Regions from separate parts of the Homo sapiens genome. Here regions 1, 2, 3, 4, 6 and 7 are each linked to region 5. The links are contacts of gene promoters, found by promoter capture Hi-C in blood cells and fetal thymus (Javierre and others, 2016). All regions are on one chromosome and are shown on one strand. The core of a region is centred on a gene start or on the middle of the fragment in contact, and the rest is flanking DNA. Distances in the headings are between cores, read along the strand shown. Region 1 overlaps SORL1 (sortilin related receptor 1). Region 2 has its middle 230 kb from the start of SORL1-AS1. Region 3 overlaps SORL1 (sortilin related receptor 1). Region 4 overlaps SORL1 (sortilin related receptor 1). Region 5 holds the start of SC5D (sterol-C5-desaturase). Region 6 has its middle 210 kb from the start of SORL1-AS1. Region 7 has its middle 190 kb from the start of SORL1-AS1.

What was found. Contacts are between HindIII fragments. The CHiCAGO score rates a contact against its expected background, and 5 or more counts as called.
Region 1: a contact is called between a fragment that was not itself captured here and the fragment with the promoter of SC5D in region 5, in 10 of 17 cell types (neutrophils, non-activated CD4 T cells, activated CD4 T cells and 7 more). The highest score is 14.6, in neutrophils.
Region 2: a contact is called between a fragment that was not itself captured here and the fragment with the promoter of SC5D in region 5, in 1 of 17 cell types (neutrophils). The highest score is 7.6, in neutrophils.
Region 3: a fragment that was not itself captured here is called in contact with the fragment with the promoter of SC5D in region 5 in 10 of 17 cell types (non-activated CD4 T cells, neutrophils, naive CD4 T cells and 7 more); the score reaches 21.3 in non-activated CD4 T cells.
Region 4: a contact is called between a fragment that was not itself captured here and the fragment with the promoter of SC5D in region 5, in 14 of 17 cell types (non-activated CD4 T cells, total CD4 T cells, naive CD4 T cells and 11 more). The highest score is 30.4, in non-activated CD4 T cells.
Region 6: a fragment that was not itself captured here is called in contact with the fragment with the promoter of SC5D in region 5 in 1 of 17 cell types (neutrophils); the score reaches 12.0 in neutrophils.
Region 7: a fragment that was not itself captured here is called in contact with the fragment with the promoter of SC5D in region 5 in 4 of 17 cell types (neutrophils, total CD4 T cells, total CD8 T cells and 1 more); the score reaches 17.6 in neutrophils.

Annotation. Positions count from the first base shown.
Region 1 is chr11:121,578,463-121,581,783 of GRCh38, forward strand. All of the region lies in intron 25 of SORL1 (sortilin related receptor 1), which reads left to right. Among named protein-coding and RNA genes, the nearest start is that of SORL1-AS1, 130 kb to the left of the region's middle. The HindIII fragment of the contact is 1,985 bases long and covers 675-2,659 here.
Region 2 is chr11:121,683,705-121,687,160 of GRCh38, forward strand. No RefSeq gene overlaps it. Among named protein-coding and RNA genes, the nearest start is that of SORL1-AS1, 230 kb to the left of the region's middle. The HindIII fragment of the contact is 4,552 bases long and covers 1-3,456 here.
Region 3 is chr11:121,622,169-121,625,770 of GRCh38, forward strand. SORL1 (sortilin related receptor 1) reads left to right here. Exons shown (of 48, transcript NM_003105.6): 45 at 1-100; 46 at 2,917-3,109. Among named protein-coding and RNA genes, the nearest start is that of SORL1-AS1, 170 kb to the left of the region's middle. The HindIII fragment of the contact is 2,624 bases long and covers 942-3,565 here.
Region 4 is chr11:121,602,858-121,606,276 of GRCh38, forward strand. It overlaps SORL1 (sortilin related receptor 1), which reads left to right. Exons shown (of 48, transcript NM_003105.6): 33 at 1,336-1,467; 34 at 2,256-2,382; 35 at 2,545-2,714. Among named protein-coding and RNA genes, the nearest start is that of SORL1-AS1, 150 kb to the left of the region's middle. The HindIII fragment of the contact is 3,015 bases long and covers 1-2,842 here.
Region 5 is chr11:121,291,163-121,294,476 of GRCh38, forward strand. SC5D (sterol-C5-desaturase) reads left to right here and starts at 1,609. Exons shown (of 5, transcript NM_006918.5): 1 at 1,609-1,654. RefSeq lists an enhancer at 1,351-1,400 and a silencer at 1,571-1,620. The HindIII fragment of the contact is 7,130 bases long and covers 475-3,314 here.
Region 6 is chr11:121,664,820-121,668,032 of GRCh38, forward strand. No RefSeq gene overlaps it. Among named protein-coding and RNA genes, the nearest start is that of SORL1-AS1, 210 kb to the left of the region's middle. The HindIII fragment of the contact is 3,229 bases long and covers 1-2,919 here.
Region 7 is chr11:121,641,633-121,644,718 of GRCh38, forward strand. No RefSeq gene overlaps it. Among named protein-coding and RNA genes, the nearest start is that of SORL1-AS1, 190 kb to the left of the region's middle. RefSeq lists an enhancer at 2,496-3,086. The HindIII fragment of the contact is 5,004 bases long and covers 1-3,086 here.

The DNA.
Region 1 (3,321 bases), core at 417-2,916, 290 kb after region 5:
GGAAATACAAAGAAGGTACATCTGTTATATCTCAGACCTAAGGATAAATAACTGTGCATTATGCTCTGGCTTAGACTTGCTTCCCCACGGAGAGAGATGACCTCTTCTTTTACTCTTTTGTATTCTCTGCAGTGTCCAGCACATAATAGAGTATGTGCTCAGAGAACCTTTGTGGATTGAGTAATTTTATGCAACTGCTTCCCTCCATTCCTTTTAGTTTGGAGGTGACCTCATATGGCCTTAAGGGAGTGAATAGATCTCTTCAAATGCCATATACATCACATGGGATATTCTGTGGTGTTACCAAATCCTGTTCGCTTGTAAAGTCCACCCATGTTCTTTCTGGCGCAGCCTCTGTGTCTGCACCTCTGCTTCTGAAAAGACTGCAGGAAAATGCTTCTCTCTGTATATTAAAGCATGGTCTGCAGAAGGAGGAAGAACCGAGGCCCATAAAGGAGCTGCCGTTGGCACAGGAAACACGTGAATGCTGTTTGGAAGCTTTGGGTTTGGATGGATACTTAGTTAATAGATTAGAAGGGTGCACTTGGACATTGCAGTTTGTAAATTGCAGTATGATTGAACATCTTGTTAACACAACTGCCTTACTCAAATTTGCATTTCAGCAGCATGTGCCGGTCTTACAGAATGAATTGATTACTTCATTTCTATAGGCAAGCTTGTATAAACTCCTGGTTTTTTCTCTGATTTTCTTCCGGCAAGGCAAACTGGAGAAAACTTAAGAGTCCTTGCTGCTCAGCTGCAGCCTTGTTCCAAGGGCTGTTCTTCCAAACCTTTCAAGGATGATCCACCTTCTCTGTCATCTCAAAATAGTTGGAGGTCAGATGTGAGCTCATGGTGATGTGTGGCATGACACCTCATTTTCAGACCTACTAAATTAAGCTGCGTACAGTGCCAAAAGAAATAGGTCAAGGTAGCTGACCTCCTGTTGGCATCAGCTTGGATGCGCACTCTGCTGTGCGTCCTCTTTGCTTTTCTTTTCGCCACTTTTACTTTCCACGAGGCTGTTTCTTTATTCACCTCAACCCACCGCTATTGTTTTTAAACGTGTACATCTGATTTCTGTGTGTTTTTTTAGGACAATTACCTGTAGACATTTTATTTGTATTCTTAACATCTTTCCTCTCTCCTAGATATATGGGGACTTTAGAATTTGATCCAAATCTCTGCCTACAGTTCCAGTACTAAAATACCTAGTATTTTAAACACTAAATATTTAGTATTTTAGTTTTATATTAAAAAATCCTAAACTTCACTGTTACTCTTTTTAAATAACCACACTTCTGCATAGGCACACAGGTATTACCAACTACCTCTGTGTCTTGTTGCTAATGCCTCCCACCAATGTACATCCTTCAGGGGTTTTGCAGCAGGAGTCTATGAGTGGCAAACTCTTTCAAGGTTTTGTTATTATAGACATATATTTAATCCTCAATCTTGAATTCAAATGGGTCTGGGTTTCTAGGCTTTTAGTAATTTTCCGTATTTTCATAGAATTCTTCCATTTCTTCCTGGCCTCTTTTGTGTTGATTTGAATTCTGCTCTTAGTTGTCTGTTCAAATAATAACAGACACTCTTTTCTTTCTAATTACCTTTAGGTTATATTGCTCTTAGTTTTACCTACCTAGGTGTGGAATTATTTTTACTTATCCTGCTTGAGACTTTGTTTGTTTTAAGATCTGAGAATTTTTCGAAAGACAACTCTGGGAAGTTACAGCTACTAACTCTTCAACTATACCTGTTGGCTACTTTCTCTGGTCTTGTCTTCAGCAGTTACTCTAAGCCATTCGTTGGACTGCCTCATTCTGTTGTTCTCTTCCCTCCTGTTTTTATATTTGCTGTCTCTTTATGACTCTGTGCTAGAATCTGAGCGACTTCTCTAGATTTATCTTCCAGTTCAACAATTCTCTTTTCAGCTAACTCTAATCTGCTGTTTCACATATACATGGAGCTGTTTTTTTTATTTCCATGAGTATACGTTTTGTATCTAGAATTTCTGTTTGGTTCTTTTTCAAATCTGCCTTTTATTTTTCAGTGTTCTTTTTTTAATACTTTATGTTTTTTCTTCTCTGTCATTAATCATTCAAATTGTGATGATAGTCATTTTTTTCCTCATGCACTTACTTTTTTTTTTTTTTTTTTGAGACAGGGTTTTGTCTTGTCTCCCAGGCTGGAGGGTAGTGGCGCGATGACAGCTCACTGTAGCCTTGACCTCCTGGGCTCAATCCATCTTCCCGCCTTAGCCTCTTGAGTAGCTGGGGCTACAGACATGTGCCATCATGCCTGGCTAATTTTTGTATGTTTTGTAGAGATGGGGTTTTGCCATATTGCCCAGGCTGGTCTCGAACTCCTGGGTGCAAGTGATCCTCTTACCTTGTCCTCTCAAAGTGCTGGGATTACAGGTATGAGCTACTGCACCTGGTCCCCTTCTCATACACTTTTTTTTTTTTTTTTGAGACGGGGTCTCTGTCGCCCAGGCTAGAGTACAGTGGTGCGATCTTGGCTTACTGCATCCTCTGTCTCCCAGGTTCAAGCAATTCTCCTGCCTCAGCCTCACGAGTAGCTGGGACTACAGATGTGTGCCAGCAGGCCTGGCTAGTTTTGTGTTTTTAGTAGAGATGAGTTTTTACCATGTTGGCCAAGCTTGTCTCTAACTCCTGATCTCAAAGTGATCCACCCTCCTCGGCCTCCCAAAGTGCTGGGATTACAGGTATGAGCTACCACGCCTCATGCGTTTCTTTATAGTCTAGCGCTTTGTAAGAAATAAGGCAGTACTTTCCCTGTTATACTACTTATTTCATCCATTCTACTCTGCTCATGTTTGGTTAATGCTTTTAATCAGGCATTCCAGCAGGTCTTGATGAATCAGGAAAGTTCTGCCTGAGTCAAAGATTAAGTTGTAGGATATTGACCTATATTAGAAACTGATGTTAGATTTCCACGATTGTTTACCACACGAACTTCACCATTCTTATAGTTACAATGAATCCTACCATGCAGAGGATTCTTTTTCTTCCCTAAATTCTTCAGTCTGGATTAAAGTCCATCTCTTCCATCCTTGTAATTAAAAAAAAAATATGTATTAAGCATGCAGTATTTACCGGGCACTCAAAATCAGAGCTCATAAGTTACTAAGAAGATAGAAAAATCTAGAAAAAGATAATGCGTTATGTATTCCAGCCATACCTGGCCACTTGAATGCAAACTGATTACTCTTTCTGAGCTCAGCTTCTGTGATAGAATCTGGAGATCTCAGCCATGCCTCCCAGAATTGTCATTTGGAAACTTCACTAGCACTCTGAA
Region 2 (3,456 bases), core at 907-3,406, 390 kb after region 5:
ATGTAGCCCTATCAAAACAAAGTAGTTGTGTTTAACAAAAAAATATTTCACACGGTTTTAGTTCTTTAGTTGCACCAGACACGTCTCAAATTGTCCAGAGGCGCATTGGCTGGTGGCTACCATATTGGACCACACAGCTGTCTATTATCTGGCCCCTCTTTATTCTAGCTTAGGTTTCATTATGTCATCAGGCATAGGGCACAAGTGTCCCTGGTAATCAGGCAGGTTCCTGCATTATACCATAAACACAGCACAATAATTGAGGCTCAGCTTCCTCATCTGTCAAATGGAAACTAAAAATTCTTGTCTCATAGGGAAGTTGTGGGGAGCCAATCATATTACATGTGTGAAATCACCTACAACAGTGTTGGGGAATAGTAGATGTCAGCAAATATTAGTTTATTTTCCTCCTTCTATCTCATAGATAGATGTCATACATTTTTTAAGGATTCACTTAATCGCAATTTTTCGTAACATTGTACACAGTTGCTCTGAACATCTACTCATCTCTAGAATTTGTTCCCTACGGTTTGGCCCTTAGTCATGGCCACAGTTTTGCCATTTGCATTTTGTGATAATTTTTAGTCTTGTTTTTCCAACATCACTGGGATTCCTTCAGGTCAGGACCTGAAGGTCCTCTCCTTCCTTCTCAGATGTTTTCTGCAGTGCCGAATTCACAGTTCAAAATCAATACATGTATTCATATTTTGTGATTGACTGATTGATTGAGATTGTCTCTAAAGTATTCTTAGTGACCAGGGAAATTCCATTTGGATTTTAAAAATTAATTGTAGATAATAGACTTTGTGAATCCAGTGGCAAATGAATAATTAAGGTTTGGCTGTGATTTGCCCTCATATGGCATTCATCAATTTCAAGTTACTTTATGTTAAAATTTGTCATAAATTAATTTTGGGGAGTGAAATATGATTACATTTCAAAACTTTTGAAAGATAAAGGAGAAAAAAATCCCTCTGTAAACTTATCACAGTCCTTACAAAATTTTTAACTCAATTCAAGTTACTCTAATATTATATTATTGATACAATAAATTATATTGATAGGTTGCTAGGTAGAAAATAGGTTACTGTCTTCTTTTTGCAGATGGTGAAACTGAGGCTCAGGGATTCAAGAAAGTTGTGCAATTTGACATCAGAAATCAGGGTGAAGACACATGAGGAAGGTGGGTGTCTTGATAGTTTCTCCCAGCATGGTGCCCACAGGTTATGTTAGAACACTTACCTCCCAGAATCACTGGTTTGAGCTTTCATGACTGATAGGAATTAAAATTCAAGGGTTTACCAAGAAATTGCGTTGCCTTATTTTCATTGCGTGTTTAGTTGCCTTCTAGTATTATGTCAAAGTTTCTTAACATCAATAGAAAGAGAAGAATTTGCAAAAACCAAATGACTACGGCATTCAGTTGCATCCTTATAAGGGACCTGGATTCAGCTAGATCGTTGAGGCTTTGTTAGACCTTAAGCAGCATTGACAGTTTAAATTCGAGATTTCAACCCTTCCATAAGGCTGTTAAACTAGCCAGAAAATCTGGAGCATTTGAGAAATTCCACAGATTGAGGGGACACAAATGGACTGAAAGGAACCCAATTCTGGAGCTCAGGACCCAGGTGGAGGTGGAAGCAGGAGAGCAGTACCAGGGGTGCCAAGGCTCTGAGCTCCTCACATGACAGGGCTCCTTGAGCTCAGCTCTGTCCATTCCCACAATGCACCTGGTCCTTCCCATAGAATGGATCTTAGTATTTTGAGTGAGAGTCAGGAGAATATTATACTAGAGTCATCTTGCTGTCCTGTGTGGAATACACTGGGTTGCCCATTTAGTGAGTGTTTAAGTGCCTGTAGCATGCACACAATGTGCAGAGGGTTCAGAAACAGATTCAGAGAACATCAGAGGTGGAAGGCATCCTTACGCACTTTGTAGAGACGTCATGGGACTTGGAGCACTTCTGGGATTTGCTCAAGTCTTCTAACTAACCAGCCCAGTGCCATTTGAATAATCCCAGGTGTCCTATTTCAGTAGATTTTGATTTGCCCCACCTTTGTCCAAGTTTACAGTTTTCTGTTTATAATCATCGAGCAGGGCCCCAGGTTTCCTGTCTACAAAGGGGATAGAAGTGGAGTAAACTCCAGACAAAAAGGCCGTTTCCTACCCACTTGGACCTTCTGATGCCCTCCAAATCTATTTTTACACTTTTATATTATAACTTTTGTTTTCCAGTGGTTTCTTCTGCATCCCTATAGCCTTCTTGCCAGGAATCGAGTCCCAAGGATTCTTTTTTCAATTTCTTTTTTTAAAAAATGATTTCAACTTCTATTTTAGATTCAGAGGGTACATGTGCAGGCTTGCTACATGAGTATATTGTGTGATGCTGAGGTTTGGGGAACGATTGATCCTATCACTCAGGTAATGAGCATGGTAGCCAATAGTTGGTTTTTCAACCCTCCCCATCTCCTTCCACCCTCTAATAGTCCCCAGTGTATATTGTTGCCATCTTTATGTCCATGAGTACCTGTGTTTAGCTCCCACTTATAACTAAGAACATGTACTATCTGGTTTTCTTTTCCTGTGTTAATTTGCTTAGGATAATGGCCTCCAGCTGCATTCATGCTGCTGCAGAGGACATGATTTCATTCTTGTTTTTTTTCTTTTTTCTTCGAGATGGAGTTTCGCTCTTGTTGCCGGATCGGAGTGTAATGGCGCTATCTTGGCTCACTGCAACCTCCACCTCCCAGGTTTAAGCGATTCTCCTGCCTCAACCTCCCAAGTAGATGGGATTACAGTTACCTGCCACCACGCCCAGATAATTTTTTGTATTTTTAGTACAGACGGGGTTTCACTATGTTGGCCAGTCTGGTCTCGAACTCCTGACCTCAGGCGATCCACCCCGCTCAGCCTCCCAAAGTGCTGAGATTACAGGCATGAGCCACCATGCCTGGCCAATTTCATTCTTTTTTATGGCCACATAGTATTCTGTAGTGTATATGTCCCACATTTTCTTTATCCAGTCCACTGTAGATGGGAACTTAGGTTGATTCCATGTCTTTGCTATTGTGAATAGCACACAATAAACATGGGAGTGCCAATGTCCTTCTGGAAAGAACAAGTTATTTTCCTTTGGGTATATACCCAGTAATGGGATTGCTAGGTTGAATGGTCATTCTGTTCTAAGTTCTTTGAGAAACCTCCAAACTGCTTTCCACAGTTGCTGAACTAATTTACATTCCTACCAATAGTGTCTAAGTATTCTCTTTTCTCCACAGCCTCACTAGCATCTGTTGTTTTTTGACTTTTTAATAATAGCCATTCTGACTGGTGTGAGATGGTATCACCTTGTGGTTTTGTTTTGTATTTCTCTGATGATTAGTGATGTTGAGAACTTTTATATAAACTTGTTTGTTGCTCATATGTCTTCTTTTGAGAAGTGTCTGTTCATGTCT
Region 3 (3,602 bases), core at 1,004-3,503, 330 kb after region 5:
ATCAGCACCTGATGCCTTAAAAATCATAACAGAAAATGATCATGTTCTTCTGTTTTGGAAAAGCCTGGCTTTAAAGGAAAAGCATTTTAATGAAAGCAGGGTAAGTTCCTCCCTCATTCTCAATGACTTTGGAAATTTAATTGAAATGCTGTTTCAGAGATGAGCTTGTTGACAGCATGCTGGCATAGATAGTGTAAAAAAAAAGAAAGAAAAAGAATAGGACATGGACATGAACTTGAGAATTAAAGGACCATTTTCAGTGGGATTGCTAATTAGCGAAATGCTTATACTGCCCGTTAAAGATGAGAATCTCTGCACTAAGCACTTTTCAATCCTGACTTGTCTTCCCCTGAAGAAAGACAAATGGGCTGGAGGCCATGCTGTGCTTCCCGCAGAAGCTGCAGCTGGGCTGGGGCTCAGGGTGTTAAACCAGGAGCCTATTCCACACTCGCTGAGGGTGGGACTGTGGCTTCAGTACCAGGAGTTGAGCTGCACTCTCAGCCTGGCATCTCAGCACTCTCTTCCCAGATAAATTACAGGGAGCAGGAGGCACTTGAAGATACTGTGCTAACTTATGAAGAACACCTTGATTTTGTTTGGTTTTGCTATTGGTAGGCCAATATGGTATTCACAGCAAAAGACAGGGGAAGAGGAGTGAGACCTGGGAGTAGATTTACCACCCAAGGGTGGACAGATTCTTGAGTAAAGCTGGGTTGGCCCCAGAGACAGCAAAGCCTTTGCTAAATAGGAATGTGATGAATCAACTATGGCTACCTGGAGATGCAGCATAGGCAAAGAGCCATGGGTTCTAAATAGTCACCGTGCAATACCAAAGCAAAGTGAAATTAAAATTGGAAAATTCTCACCACACACTCTGTGAGAATTCTCATAACTCTTGTAACTATGACATCTAAATGGCTAATATCCTTAAATAGAAGGAAAGCTTTCAAGTAAGTTCAAAATGGAAATATTCTAATTTTGAAGAAGGGACATGTAACAAAGCGGAAAATTCCAGCAGCAGTAAGCAAAAGGAGAAAAGTTCAACCTCACCGGTAATCTAAATAACAAAGAGGTAACCCTCTCATGTTAAATTGGTAAAGATTTGCAGGGAAGAGTATAACTGGTATGAATAGTAGTTGGGGAAGTAAACGTTCTGGGAATATGAATTGGTTCAAACTCAAGTAAGGTTCTTGGGTAATACCTATCAAAAACGTTGAAAGTGTTCACACCCATTGATCCAGCAGTTGTAGGATTTTACTCTAAAGCAGCAACGTGCATGAAGAATTTGTGTGTAGTATTTATGACAGCAAGAAAGAGGAAACAGCCGAGATGCCGAACAGAAGAGGATGGGTTAAATAACGTATGGGTGGTTGATGTTGTGTAATCTCAATTATTTTCTTTATAACCTTTGTGTATTTTACAAATGATCGACACCAGATATCTATTAGGTGGAAGGTAATAACTGCTGGCTTATAGGAAAGAATGCGGGGATGAGATTCCAGGCAGGTATTGGGAATCCCAGTTCGGCAGCCAGTCGCCATTAGGGGATCCTTCCTGGGTGGCTGGAGCCCGGCTCTTAGGTTAAGATTCTAGGTTAGTATTTCGTTCCTAGTGGAGGGTCTGGCATAGGCATAGCATGTCCTTCTTCCCTTCCCCTGACAAGGAGTTCAAAGAATTGTATTAGTCCGTTTCCACAGTGCCAATAAAGACATACCCAAGCCTGGGTAATTTATAAAGGAAGGAGGTTTAATTGACTCACAGTTCCACATGGCTGCGGAGGCCTCTCCATCATGGTGGAAGGCAAAGAGGAGCAAAGCCACATCTTACATGGCGGCAGACAAAGAGAGAATGAGAGCCAAGTGAAAGGGGAAACTTCTTATAAAACCATCAGATCTTGTGAGACTATTCACTACCATGAGAACAGTATAGGGGAAGCCGCACCCATGATCCAGTGATCTCTCACCGGGTCCCTCCCACAGCACAGGAGAATTATAGGAGCTAGAATTCAAGATGAGATTTGGGTGGGGACACAGCCAAACCACATCAAGAATAGATGGGTCAGTGGTATTGGGATCAAGAGACTGTGATTATGCAAGGGGGCCCAATATGTGGCTAGAGAAAAGTGATGGAGTCTTTTCAGGGGGATGGTGGAGAGTGTCAGTAGCTTTGACACTGGAATAGTTGGGGATCAGCAGAGAAGTCAGGTTGTCAGCCCTCATCCCAGCTAGTATCCTGGGCCAGGGCTGTCCCCAGGATGGCTTTTTCCAGCACCAGAGTCCAGGGCTGTAACTAGGAAGACATTTCATCCTCTCCTCCAGTGAACAGGGGCCTGAGCTGGCTTCAGTGCTTCTGATTTCAAGGCCAGGTTGTTGGGGGGCTGAGATCGGCTCAGAAGGAGCTAGAGAGCAGGGAGACAGGAAGTGAGCCGACAAGGTCATTCCTACATATTGTTCTGGGGACAAATGTCTTGTCTTTTCTAATTGCAAGTTCTCCTTTCTCACCCCATTGCTGGAGTCCACTGCGACCTGGATTTATTATTAGTCAAATTCCATTATGGCAAACTGTTCAGATTCTTGGTGGCATTTAATATTGCTTGAGACAGGCAGACTGCTGAGCAAATCTCTGAGTGTGGCTTTGGTAAAATGACTTTCCTGAGGGCCACAGTTTTCATTTCCACGATATAGCTTGTTGTGGGGGGGTGGTGTGGCAGTTATTTGAGATATTGGAGATGAGAAAAATTTTCATTTTCTGAATCCAGTATCTCAGTGGTAATGTAAAAAGAACAAGGAGAAACCCAGGGCGCTTTCGCGTCTGTAGCAGCCCACAGTGAGGAGCTCACATAAAGATGGAACCAGTAATAGAGGCTGTCAGTTTCCATATTCGACTTCCTGAGCAATCTCTTGTGTTTGTTTTCAGGGCTATGAGATACACATGTTTGATAGTGCCATGAATATCACAGCTTACCTTGGGAATACTACTGACAATTTCTTTAAAATTTCCAACCTGAAGATGGGTCATAATTACACGTTCACCGTCCAAGCAAGATGCCTTTTTGGCAACCAGATCTGTGGGGAGCCTGCCATCCTGCTGTACGATGAGCTGGGGTCTGGTGAGTTGCGATTGCTGCCCGTTTCTGTCTTCAGTTCTAGGGAAATAGCAAGAATGTCATATGGTTTCATGACCATGTGTCTTTCTAAAACACATGGAAGATATTCTCAGCTTAAAAGAAAATCATTTATATATCAGTTTGGTCAGGTAGTGATGTATTTAACAAATACTTCCTGAGCTGAACATGGTACAGGAAGCTGAGATTACAGGGGGACCGGATTCTGAACATAAAGTGCAAGAAAGGCAAGGCTTTGTTTAAAAAGGGAAACTCTAGGTTCACAAGAGTTTCATTTGTTTTTTGTGGGACTTCTCAGCACCTCTAACATGCTAATATATCCTGTGGATCTCCAAGCCAGTAGATCATCTCCTTGTCATGGATTTTACATGTAAAATCATATAACTGATTTTACAGTGCACACCTCTGCCCCGCCCCGGCTTCATCTTAGCTCTCAGCATAAGCTTAGGACTGGAATTTGTCCTGGGATCTCTGTCTT
Region 4 (3,419 bases), core at 85-2,584, 310 kb after region 5:
AGAGATAGGCAGAGGCCGTTAACCTACAAGATGTCACCATGGGCAGGGGGCAGGGTGCGGGGAGCAGAATGGAGCCACTCATGTTCAGCCTCCTTTTGTCTGTTATAATTTCCCCATTTTCAAAGCCAGTGATGTTGCATGTCTCTCACCTGTCTTCTGTATTCTCTCTGTCTCTCACCACAACCAGAAAAGGGTCTCTGCTTTTAAGGACCCATGTCATTAGACAGAGCCCACCTGGATAATCCAGGCTGAACTCTCCTACCTATGGGTCCTTAATCTAATCACACCTGCAAAGTTGCTTTGTTACATAAGGTAACATATTACAGGTTCCAGGGATTAGGATGTGGACGTCTTTGACTTGGAGGAGCAAGATTGATTTTAGACCCTCATCACTGGTGGGATTGGATTTCTGATGTAGCCCTTCCTTGTCCAGGACTGGGCAGGCAGGTGTGAATCTGTATAAGGAAGGCCTCAAGTTACTGTTCCTGGGCTCAACCAGCTACATAGCAGATTTGTACCACCCAGGTACACAGCCTGCATAGCAGATTTGCTGTCTACAGCCATTCTCACCTTTTCTCTTTTCAGGAGCATTTGCAATTATACGGTCATTGCTTTCTTTTTGGAGCCTCCCGTGCAGTTTTAATCTACTTTCAGAACTGGAGAGCACATCACATTTTGGTCAATAGCCTAGACATACAGTTGCATAACCCTTAACTTACCAGTGCTCATTATTTGCATTATTTCATTTTCTGTTCAAGTACTTTGAAAAGCCAAACAACTTTAAATACTACATAAAGTATGCATGCCTCTTAATATTGTTGGGATTCATCTCATTGTTATTTCTGTTACTCAAACCAGAAATCAGCTCCTCTTTCTAGATTGCAAACTAATAATAGTAGCAGAATAATTAATAGTACTATAGAGTAATAGCTACAGTTTGTTGATGCCGGCCAGGAGCCAGGCAGTGTTCCAGGTGTGTGATCTCATTAGATCCTTGCAGACATGATAGTGATGGAATTGTTACTTCCATTTTTTATAGGGCAACTGAACTCAGGTGATATTAAGCTGTTTGCTCAAGCTCATGCAGATCTAGGATTTAAACTCTAGTTTGTTTGACTCCAAAGTGCTCACTCTTCCCGAATGCAGATTCCAGTTGTTAATGTTAGATGAGATGGCACCTTAGTGCCGGTATAGATTCCACCACTGGTCATTCCAGAGGTGTGTTTTGAAGCAGAAGCCAATTAGTACTTTGCCTAAATGGGAATAAACTTGGGCCCAGCCTTTAGTACCATACGGCCCCTCCCCGTGGACTTAAGAAGCCTCTCTGTGTTTCAGCCACACACAGCACCTTGACTTGCATGAGCAGGGAGTTCCAGTGCGAGGACGGGGAGGCCTGCATTGTGCTCTCGGAGCGCTGCGACGGCTTCCTGGACTGCTCGGACGAGAGCGATGAAAAGGCCTGCAGTGGTGAGTGCCGGTCCACGGGCTGGGCTGGGCTGGGCTGGGCTGGGAGGCTCGCTTACCCCAGGGCCCCTCCTGTGTAGACCTTGAGCTAGGACCCTTTTGAACTGTTGCTCAATCTAAGGATAAAACAGATTTGTGCCTAGTTTTGGAGCCCCAAGTGAGGTGAGCCTTGGCCAGACTCTGATACAACATGCAGCTGTCTCCTCCCTGTTAGTGAAATGCTAGTCTTGGATTTTTTTTTTTTTATGGACTTCCCACCTCATGCCCATACACCATGGCTCTCACAGTCTCAATCTGCTGGTGGGATTAACTCAGTTCTTATCTCTGGAGTGTCTAGTAATGGACCCTATGACATGGTCCTTGGACTTGTAGCATTCTCTATGGAGAAATAGGCTTAAATTGTCATAGGCAGGAGGAAGATGAAATTCGAGGGAAAATATCACGACCGGAAAAGTAGGAGACCCTAGGAGGGATTGTATAGGGAGGTTTCAACTACATTTTCTGAGATTTCTTTTCAGATAATGATTATGGCCTCCTGATAATCTAGATCATGGTAGTTCTGTTTAAAAGCAGGAGTCCTTTGAAATCTAAGGATTTGTAAGATGTAACTTTTTTTTTTTTGTATTTTTAGTAGAGACGGGGTTTAGCCACATTGCCCAGGCCAGTCTCGAACTCCTGAGCTCAGGCAATTTGCCCGCCTCGGCCTCCCAAAGTGCTAGGATTACAGGCGTGAGCCACCACGCCCAGCCAAGATGTAACTTTGTTTGTCTTTTTCTCCTTTATCTCTCTAGATGAGTTGACTGTGTACAAAGTACAGAATCTTCAGTGGACAGCTGACTTCTCTGGGGATGTGACTTTGACCTGGATGAGGCCCAAAAAAATGCCCTCTGCTTCTTGTGTATATAATGTCTACTACAGGTAGGTCCCATCTTTGTCATGGGAGATGAAAATGATGTCTTCATTGCCCCAGGATGTTCTGTAAACTCTCTAGTGGCATGCACCATGCTATTAACGGAGTCAGACATCTCAGCCCCCCATGCTGCTCCAGTGTGACAATATCTTTATTTTTTTTTGGGCCAGGGTGGTTGGAGAGAGCATATGGAAGACTCTGGAGACCCACAGCAATAAGACAAACACTGTATTAAAAGTCTTGAAACCAGATACCACGTATCAGGTTAAAGTACAGGTTCAGTGTCTCAGCAAGGCACACAACACCAATGACTTTGTGACCCTGAGGACCCCAGAGGGATGTAAGTGTTTCAGTTAATTTTTATGGCATGGGTAAGACCTCAGGTCGGGGTTTGTGAGGGTCTTTCTGAGTATTCTCAGGAATGTGGGAACATATGTGTGCCTCACATGTACAGAAGTATGGTGGCTAAGCTTTATAGTCTTGCCAGAGTTGTCAAACATCTGTTCTTCTTACTGCATCAGAGACTGTTCTTGTACCTTAAGTTAATTTAAGATTCTCTCCACCATTGCCCTCTTGCATTTTTTGTCTAGTTTCTACCTCTACGTTCCTCCTCTAGATATTTCCTAGTACTTGGTACTTAGGAGGAGGTCATCGTCATTAAAATATGAGGCATATCAGCAATTTTGTGGCTAAGTTTTTTTCTTTTTGGAGACAAGGTCTCACTCTGACACCCACACTGGAGTGCAGTGGAGGCGCAATCACTGCTCACCACCTCAGTCTTCCCAGGCTCAGGTGGTCCTCCCGCCTCAGCCTCTCGCATAGCTGAGACTATAGGTGTGTGCCACCATGCTCAGCTAGCTTTTTGTATTTTTGTACAGAAAGGGTTTTGCCGTGTTACCTAGGCTGGTCTTGAGCTACTGAGCTCAAGCAATCCACCTACTTCAGCCTCCCAAAATGTTGGGATTACAGGTGTGAGCCACTGCACCTGGCTTTGTGGCTAAGTTTTTAAGAAATTTACCAAATTTATGTGTCTAAGAGAGTTCCT
Region 5 (3,314 bases), core at 359-2,858:
CACGTTCTGCACATGTATCCCAGAACTTAAATAATAATTAAAAAATACACTTAAATTTATTTTTAAACAAGATTGTTCTCTTGAGGTTAACTTATTACTACTTTGAGTTGTCAGGAGTGATTGCAAATTTCTTGGGAATCCCTAAGTCACCAAGAATAAAGACCACTTGTAATAGCTAAGGCATATTCAACAATAAAATTCTAGAGATTCAGGATATTTGATGTTTGCTTATAACATTTCACTTTTGAGCTTTTATTCGTTTAATAAATGTTTTATCATCTATGCTCAATAACATTTTAAAGTGTCCATTCAAATCATTTCATTGGGCAAAACAATGTTCCTTCCCTAATTTCCCTCATCAGAATAGCCATTTTGTCTCTGTGCTCAGCCTATACCACCAATTACTGTTTATTTCCTGTCCTTGTAATAAGCAACATAGTTATTTATACATGCCCATTTCTCCCACAGCACATAAGCTTTTTAAGGTTGGGAACCATGTCTTTGTCATTATTGTAACATCTCTTTCCATTCCCGGTGTTCAGTACGATGTGTTAAACGAAGTAGACACTCAAAACTTTTTAAAATTTATTTTTATTTATATAATGAGTCTTTTTTAAAAAAACCACCTACACTATTTTAAATTCATTTGAACTTTGTCCAGTATCCTATGTACATTTGAAGTTTAACTACCGGAAAAGTCTTTTGAAGGCAGATCGAATCATGTTATTTTTTTCCCTTAAAAATCCCTCATTTCTGTCATGTATTCCCCATATTATTTATGTAATAGGTAAAGTGGCCCAGTTTGCCACTTTGAAGTTGCTGAGCTGGTATCACAAGTCAGTCCCCTCTGTTTTAATCTCTGTTTAAGGAAAGTCACTCTGAAACGACAGATCTTTTGGTTCCTTATTTCTGCTTTCCTCCGTCCTCTTCTGCCTGTGAAGCCACCCTCCTCTGCTCAGCTCTGTTTCAGGAAATCGGAGCTGCTCGATTCATGTGTAGCAAATCAAAGCCAATTAGATCTGCGTTAACCTTGGTTTTCAACAACTTGTATCGTGAAAAGGTTTCTGTCCATGTTTACCCTCATCTTGTCACCATTTAGACCCCTACATACACCGGCTCGCGGAGCCTCCAGCCATTCAGCGCTAGAAAATCGGGGGGACTACGTCTTAAAACCTTGAGCACCTGTTTGGGAACATCTGCACCTCCTCCCTTGAGGGAGAAAACGACCCAGACATTCGCGTCAAAGGAAGTGTCGTCTATTTCCCTCAACGCAGGGCACCCGTTCTAGGAATGTTTGTATAAACACCGTAAACCTGCCTGGTACCACCATGAATGACACAAGAGCTAGTTTAAAAAGAAAGCAAAGAAACAAACGCAAAACCCGAAACCGCATCCTCCACCGCAAAGGTACTCGGATGGGGCGCCCGCCCTCCCCTTAGTCAGAGGACAAAGGGGGCGTGGCCGAGCGCGCGGCGCCCACGTGACCGCGGAGAGCTGCGCGCAGGCCCTTCGCGCGATCTGCCGTCATATCAGCTTATGGCGCCGGTCGCTGATTGGCTGGCCGCTCCAGCCTCCCGGCCCGCTTGCTGGCTGCCCAGCTGCTAGGACAGTTTGCAGAGCAGTGGCGTGCGGAGCGGCGGCGGACCACCTCCAGGTGGGGACGGTGGGTGGGCGGGGAAGGAAGCGGAATACACCTGAGCGGGCTGGGCCGGGGGGCGATGGAATAAAAGAAGATGGAGAGACTTCAGCGCCTGGGACTCGGGTGGGCGAGGCGGAAGGTGTCCTCGCAGCACGGCTTTTCTCCGCGCCGCGGTTGGTTAGCGAGTGCCCTCTGGGTGCTAGGCGTTGGGCGGATGGTAGGATCGCGGTAGCATACGGATCCGAGTCCTGCGCCGAGTGAGAGGAGAGGCTGGCAGGTAGCCTGGCATCCCGAAGACTGGCGGCGAGGGCTGGGCCGGGGGACCTCGGGGCCTGGAGGGCTGCGCCACCTGGGAGTCCGGGCGGAGGGGCCTTCCGCTCGCGCTGGGAGGGATCGCGGGGCCGATAGGGAGGCCTGGACTTGAAGGAGCCGACCGTGGACGGGCTTAAAGAAAATGCAGTGTTTGATGTTGGGTGTTGCAGATCTCTTACTCAAGGGAATTCTGGTCTGGCTGCTGAACACGAATGCTTTACTTTTCCCTTCGTTCTGGGAGGGTTTTTTTCTTTTAAAGGCCAGAAGAATCAGGCTGAAGAACTGGTCGGTATCAGAACTCCTGACCATTGCAAGCCTCTGTTGCTGCGGCGTAATTAGAATGAAGGGACAGCAATCTGGGGCTGAGGAGACTGAAAGGAAAAGGGAAATAATCTGTTCCTTTTGCATCATAAAAGGAAAAATAATGTATACTGACATCCCTGTGTTACAGCAGAGTAGATTTGGAGGTGGTGTAAGTGAAGAAAACAAGACCTCAGTACATAGAGTTTCCAAACTGGAAAGTTTGTGGCAGCTCGGTACTTTTAGAGGAAACCCTCTGGAAGTTATTTGTCTTTATATCACTATCATTTTTTAAAGTTTCTAATGATTGATACCTAGTAAATAATAACTGATCCTTGATCATTTACAGAGTGCTTTTCCATTCGTTATGTAATGTAATTAATTAGCATGGGGTGGTACTCAGAATCCCTCATCTGCATATAAAACATCTTGAGAGATAACATAACGTGGTAGCAAAGAGAAAGGTTGTGGAATGTACATCCCAGCTGGTTTTTTCTGTTATTGTTGCTTGCTACTGAACAAGTTATTTAAATACTCTGACCTCAGTTTCCCTATCTATAAAGTGGGGAGCATAGAAGTACCTATCTCATAGAGGTATAGGGATTAGATGAGGTTATACAAAAATAATACCTGGTTCTCAATAAATATTAGCTATCATTTTCTATACTTTTAAAGTAGGGCAAAAAGATAATGGTAGACTGAGTTGTTCTAAGCCTAATATTGTTATTATAACTGAGTTTTAAGAAGAAGTTTCTTTAATTCTGCAAGGACAAAGTATTTAAGTTTCTGTTTGAAGCAGTGGTACTTAATTTAGGGTCCTTGGGACCCCTAACTTCAGGGCTTATAACCCCTTAAAATTATATGAGCTTGTAGAGGCACTGAACATTTTTAAAAATTCAGGAGTTGACGACTTGAAGTAGTGGTGAAGAGGCTATAGAACTTGGCAGAAGTTCACGTACTTTGCAACTAGATTGTGTGTATTTGAATCCTAGCTCCAGCATTTATTTACTCTTATGACCCTATGCAAGTTACTTAAAATTTCTGTGCCCAGCTTCTTCATCTA
Region 6 (3,213 bases), core at 55-2,554, 370 kb after region 5:
ACTGGTCAGCCATGTAAAGTTTCACTCCTAGAAACGATGTCACCTTCATGCACATATTTACTTGTCTGTCTCACTGACTAGACCCATTTTCCAAGTCCAGCTCAAGTTCAGACTGTACAGGAATCACATTTATCTTAGAATCGGCAGGGCACAGCACAAAGCCGGGCACATAATTGGTGCTTGCTCATTGTCTAATGAATTGAAAGAAGGAAAGAAAAAGAAAGAAAGAAAGAAAGAAGGAAGGAAGGAAGGAAGGAAGGAAGGAAGGAATCTCAAAGGCCAAGCAGGAGAATAAAATACCCTTAAAGCTGAGGCTTCGGGGGCTGAGATAGCATTGTTTTAGCATGCTTTCGGAACAGTGTAGGAGCTGGTATGGTATAATGTGTCTCCATGTAGCAGGAGGCAGGACAGTCGCACTGCTGTGTCAAAGAGCTGGAGCCCTTGGTAGGACACGTACCCAACAATGTCATTTGTGCACAAGGGAACTTGGCTGGGGAGCAACTGCACTTCCACCTCCACCATCTGCTTAGTTAATTCCCAGCCCGCTGGCTCCAGTGTCTCTTACCTCTTAATTACCAGCCTTGGCTCCCACCTGGCTCAAGAGACCAGCTTTGCTTCCCTGTTGCATTTTAAGCAGTGACCTGACAAAGCCTATCTTTCCTGGCTGAGATTTCCTTTGGTCGCCTTCAGCCAGCCCTTTCCTTTTGGGATATCCTGCCTTACCCATGTAGTGGTTCAGAGCAGCCTGACATCCAGGTGGCCCTGGCAGCTCTGAGCTAGTTCTGTCCACTCAGGGGCAATGCCCCACAGGGCAAACTGGCATTTAGAGCCTTTGAGAGTAACTGGCACAGGATAAAACCAATTAAGAGGGCAGTTCAGAGATGCTGGGACCCGTGGCATAGTCTATCATTGGTGGACTTTCCAAGTCAGGGTGACGGTAATTACCTGAATCCCTGGATGCTCTCTTTGTACAATGTTCTGACATCCTGGAAAAGAGCCTACCTCAGTCAGTTCATCTCAGCCCAGATAGTGCCTATTCTTGAACTCTCCCTGCTCTAAAAGAATTTCAGTGTTTTTCCTTTTTGAGGGTGGGTGACCTTGGATTGACGGCATCTTGGTTCAGAGCATGACCTCAGAATGGAGAGCTTTCTCCAGCTGAACTGACGAAATTTGCCTCCTCTTAACCCTCTTAGCTTTTTTCTTAAACTCCAGTCAGTAGAGAAACTCCAAAATTTACCCTTCTTCTGAATTGAGTTGCTTTTATTCTATAGATATTTTAATCTTTCCCTCTGTGTCAACTTTGATGACCCTGACAGTGAAGGTGAGCATGATACCGAGATTTCTGAGTGTCGTCTTCTCATCAGGTGCTCAGATAAGAGCTCCTATGCTAGGTCCTTTGGACAACAGAGAAAACCAATGAAGGGTGTGCATTCTAGGTAAATAGTCAAAATAAGATGCTTGAAGGTGGATTGGATTATATAAACTATCTCATATGCCCCAGATGCTTGTGACAGCCACCAACAGGTAAGTGCATGTGAGCATTCTAGGGGACAGGGGATTTTATTTAAAAGCCCAAAGGAAAATGTTCATGTCTTTTTATTTCCAAGAACTTCCCATTGTATCTTATTTAATCTTTACTAGAATAATCCTACAGGGAAAGGAAGGAGAGTGGAATAGCTTGCTCCTCCTCACCTTTTACCTTTTTATAGATGGCAACTGAGATGTAGAAGGAATGAGCTATCCATTAGGTAGATCTGGGACTTGAACCTGGGTCTTCAGATTCCCACCACAGGGAGAAGTTCTTTGAGGGTGGGAGGCATCATATGTATTACCTGGCTCATCCATCTTGGATGAAGATGGTAGAAAGCTGCACTGTGAACAGGGCTTCAACTCGATATCCACCCATCTGGTGGATATCAGAATCTCCAGAGTGGGCAAAGGAGGAAAAAAAAAATCTAGTGTTTTTCAGAAAAATATATTCATTATACATTCCTGCTTAGAAAATGAATGTTTATAATATAAACTATCTAGCAAAATTCTAGCAAAATCTTGACTAATATGGTATGGGTAAAAAAAAATACTGAAAACCAGTTTGATCTTTTTTGTCCTCTATGTCCACCAAAGAGTTGTCGTCTCTGGAGCTGGAACAGCTACCTCACTGCATGGCCATCATCCCACTATACCCTGATAGAGTGTGGAGCCAGAAGTAGCTCCAGAGGAATCAGCTATCATCAGAGCCTTTACTACCAATTTGTAGTCTCAGTTGGAGTTGACTTCTGGTGAACTGGTGGACTGAGGCTGACCCATTAATCAACAGGTCTTACTAAGCACATGTCCAGTACTATGCTAGGTGCTTTGGACAACAGAGAAAACCCACGAAGGGTGTGCATTCTAGGTAAGGAGTCAAAACAAAATGCTTAAAGTTGGACTGAACTACCTAAACGATTAGACAGGTTCATAAAAAAGAGTAATTCTGGGCCAAGCATGGTGGCTCATGCCATGCACTTTGATAGGCCGAGGCGGGCAGATTGACTGAGATCAGGAGTTTGAGACCAGTCTGGCCAACACGATGAAAACCCGTCTCTACTAAAAATGCAAAAAAATTAGCCGGATGTGGTGGCGTGCACCTGTAATCTCAGCTACTCAGGAGGCTGAGACAGGGGAATTGTTTGAACCAGGGAGGTGGAGGTTGCAGTGAGCTGAGATTGTGCCACTGCACTCCAGCCTGGGTGACAGAGCAAGACTCCATCTCAAAAAAAAAAAAAAAAAAGGTAGTTCTGTATATGATGTATTTGGCATTTGAATATTAAATACTTGCTATGTGCTAAATTTCCTATATCAGGTGTCGAAAATGTAGGGTGTCAAAATAGGCAGGATAAGCTAAGCTGTGCTGAAGTAACAGCAGTCCCCAGATTTTAAAGCTTTAACACAACAAAGGGTTAATTTTGCTCAGATAATACATCCAACAAGGGTGTAAGGAATTGTCTGCTCCACATAGTCACTCAGGGACCCATACAGATGGGAGCTCCCCATATTGTGGCTGAACTTTAATATAGCATACATGAAATATTTGATGAACACTAACAGTTTCTGTGACACGTGGGAGTGGATATAAAGATAGATATAGTCCCTACCCTCAATTCCTGTTCAAAACTATGACACAAAACAGATGGTGCTAAGCACCATCAGAGAGATACAGATAAAGTGCTGAGT
Region 7 (3,086 bases), core at 160-2,659, 350 kb after region 5:
GGAGCAGATTGGGTAATAAAATAAAATGTATATTGAGAATAAGACGGCCTTCTGACCTTTCAGGGTCTAGGGCTGTAAAGCGTCTCAGGGTTGCTGCCGAACGAGCCATGAACTGGGCTGGGTTTTTCATATTTGATGAAAAAGAGCCTAAACGCTAACTGATTTGGGAAAGGTCAGATAAAGAAAAAGGAGCATTAACCTTGACTATGCCTTTAGATCCAGCCACCTTTTTAGGAGGAAATTGCTGGGCAGGTGGGGGAAGGCTAGTCGCAGAACGAAACTGTAAGCTGGACCGGGTGTGAGGAGGGGAGGTGATAAAAGGATTATAGGGTGGGGGAGCAGAGACTGAGCAGAGACTGAGGAAGAATTGGGACCTGGCTCGGCCTGGCGAGGAGGGGAGAGGTCAGATGGGTCTGTAGAAAAGGAAGATTAGGAAGACTCAGTGACGCTTGGGGTTGGGACTGAGGGGACAGGTGGGAGGGAAAGGAGGAGGATCTGGGACGAGTTGCATTGGGAACAGAGACTATGGAGGGAACAATGTATAAAAGAATGCCTGGACGTCAGGCACCTCAGACCATTTGCCCATTTTACGACAAGAATTATTTAGATCTTGTAGGATGGAAAAATTGAAAGTGCCATTTTCTGGCTATTTGGAACCACTGTTGAGTTTATATTGGGGTCAAGCGGCATTGCAGAAGAAGATAAGGTTTTAAGGCCAGGTGTGAGTTGAAGAGGTTTTAAGTTCTTGAGAACACAGGCTAAGGGAGAAGGAGGAATGGAGGGTGGAAGGTTGCCTATAGTGAAGGAGGCAAGCCCAGAGAAAAGAGAGAATAGAGACACGGAGGGAAAGGGTTCAGGGGTTCTTACCTTCCAGGAAAGCGGGAAAGGGGTTGGGGCGTGGAAATGAGGGGTTGGGGCACAGAGATAAGAGGTTGGGCCACAGAGAGAGGTCGGGGCATGGAAATAAGGGATTGGGGCACAGAGATACGAGGTTGGGGTACTTGCCCCTCCCCCAGAAAAGCGGGACTTGCCGCTAAGGGTGAAGGACCAAGGCAGGCGTCCCTGCCTGGTCTGACACCTCTGAAACGTGGGTGAATAAAAATCAGAGAGGTGTCCCTGCAATGATTAAACACCAAGGGAAGGCTGCCTTCCCAGTCCGTGACCGGCGCCGGAGTTTTGGGTCCACGGATAAAAGATGTCCCCTTTGTCTCTACCAGAAAATGAAAGGAATTGAAATTAAGAGAAGGGAGAGATTGAAGAGTGGAAAGGAGAAAGTGGTTGAGGGATAGTGAGAGAGGTTGGAGAAGAGAGTAAGAAGAGGCCGCTTACCTGATTTAAAATTGGTGAGGTGTTCGTTGGACTGGTGGGTCTGAGGACCCGAGTTTGTAGGTGGATCTTTTTCATGGAGCAAAGAGCAGGAGGACAGGGGATTGATCTCCCAAGGGAGGTCCCCCGATCCGAGTCACAGCACCAAATTTCACTCACGTCTGTGTGAAGAGACCACCAAACAGGCTTTGTGTGAGCAACAAGGCTGTTTATTTCACCTGGGTGCAGTTGGGCTGAGTGCAAAAAGAGAGTCAGTGAAGGGAGATAAGGGTGGGGCCGTTTTATAGGATTTGGGTAGATAAAGGAAAATTACAGTCAAAGGGGGGTTGTTCTCTGGTGGGCAGGAGTGGGGGTGGCAAGGTGCTCAGTGGGGGAGCTTTTTGAGCCAGGATGAGCCAGGAAAAGGACTTTTACAAGGTAATGTCATCAGTTAAGGCAAGGACTGGCCATTTTCACTTCTTTTGTGGTGGAATGTCATCAGTTAAGGCGGGGCAGGGCATTTTCACTTCTTTTGTGATTCTTCAGTTACTTCAGGCCATCTGGGTGTATATGTGCAAGTCATTGGGGATGCGATGGCTTAGCTTGAGCTCGGAGGCCTGACAATTTGTATCCATTGTAGACATTTTTGGAAACTAAAAGCAGCCAGAAGGAAATAAGATTTCCAGGTAATCCCAGAGATAATGGCTGTTAACATTTGGTATGTGTCCTTTTATTGCTTTGTTCTGTATGAGTGATGGCATCTGTTACAGTTCTGCTGTGACAATGACTAAGTCCGTGTGTGGGAGTGTTCCAGACCTCTGTCACTTCTCTTAGGTCTTAGTTCCAACTGTAAAGACAAATCTGAATTCAGATAGAAGCTGAGTGTTCCAGACCTCTGTCACTTCTCTTAGGTCTTAGTTCCAACTATAAAGACAAATCTGAATTCAGATAGAAGCCGAGCAGGATCTTCTTCCCCCTTTGTCCCTGTGAGCAGTTTTAATACAGACTTACTCGGAAGACCAGTGGCACCAGGGGGTTGTTGCTGCACCGCCAGCTGTGTGTCTCCCTCTCTTATCATTACAATCAAGTGCTTTGAGTCATCTTTCACATTAATGGAGCTCCCAGGAGGATTCATTCCCGTCACCTCGTTATCTCTGGCTCACCAGGTTTTTACTATTCAGTGTTTTGCTGCTCACAAGATTGGGGGAATAGCTATCAACACATCCCATCAACGAAAGTAGAGAACAGAAGTAGACATGAGACAGCATAACATAGGCACATAAACAGAAGATGGGTCGCAAACATGTTTGTCACATTAAGCACGTTTAGGGCAAAAGGAACCTGACTTGCAAACAAGGAGGTGTTGACTCTGCGGAGAAGTGGATGGTCTACAGTCTGCTAAAAGCTCAGTGGTGGGACTGGTTTGCCGGTTTCTGTGATGGGGAGGGAGGAAGAGAAAGAGATGAAAGGAGCTTTGGAGGTATTTAGTGTTGGGTGGTGAATACTTTCTTCATTTCAACTCAGAATGGGAATGTGTTAGATGGGCAAGATGGTTTTCCTTAGTATTAAATTGCAGCACAAGAATATTATAGAGATTATGATGCCAGTCAGGAGAACAGCATGAACCCAGGAGGCGGAGCTTGCAGTGAGCTGAGATCACACCACTGCACTCCAGAGCCTGGGCAACAGAGCAAGACTCAGTCTCAAAAAATAAAAAAAATAAAAAAAATAAAGACAAAGAGATTATGATGCCAGAGCTAGAGGATGTAAAATTCCGATTC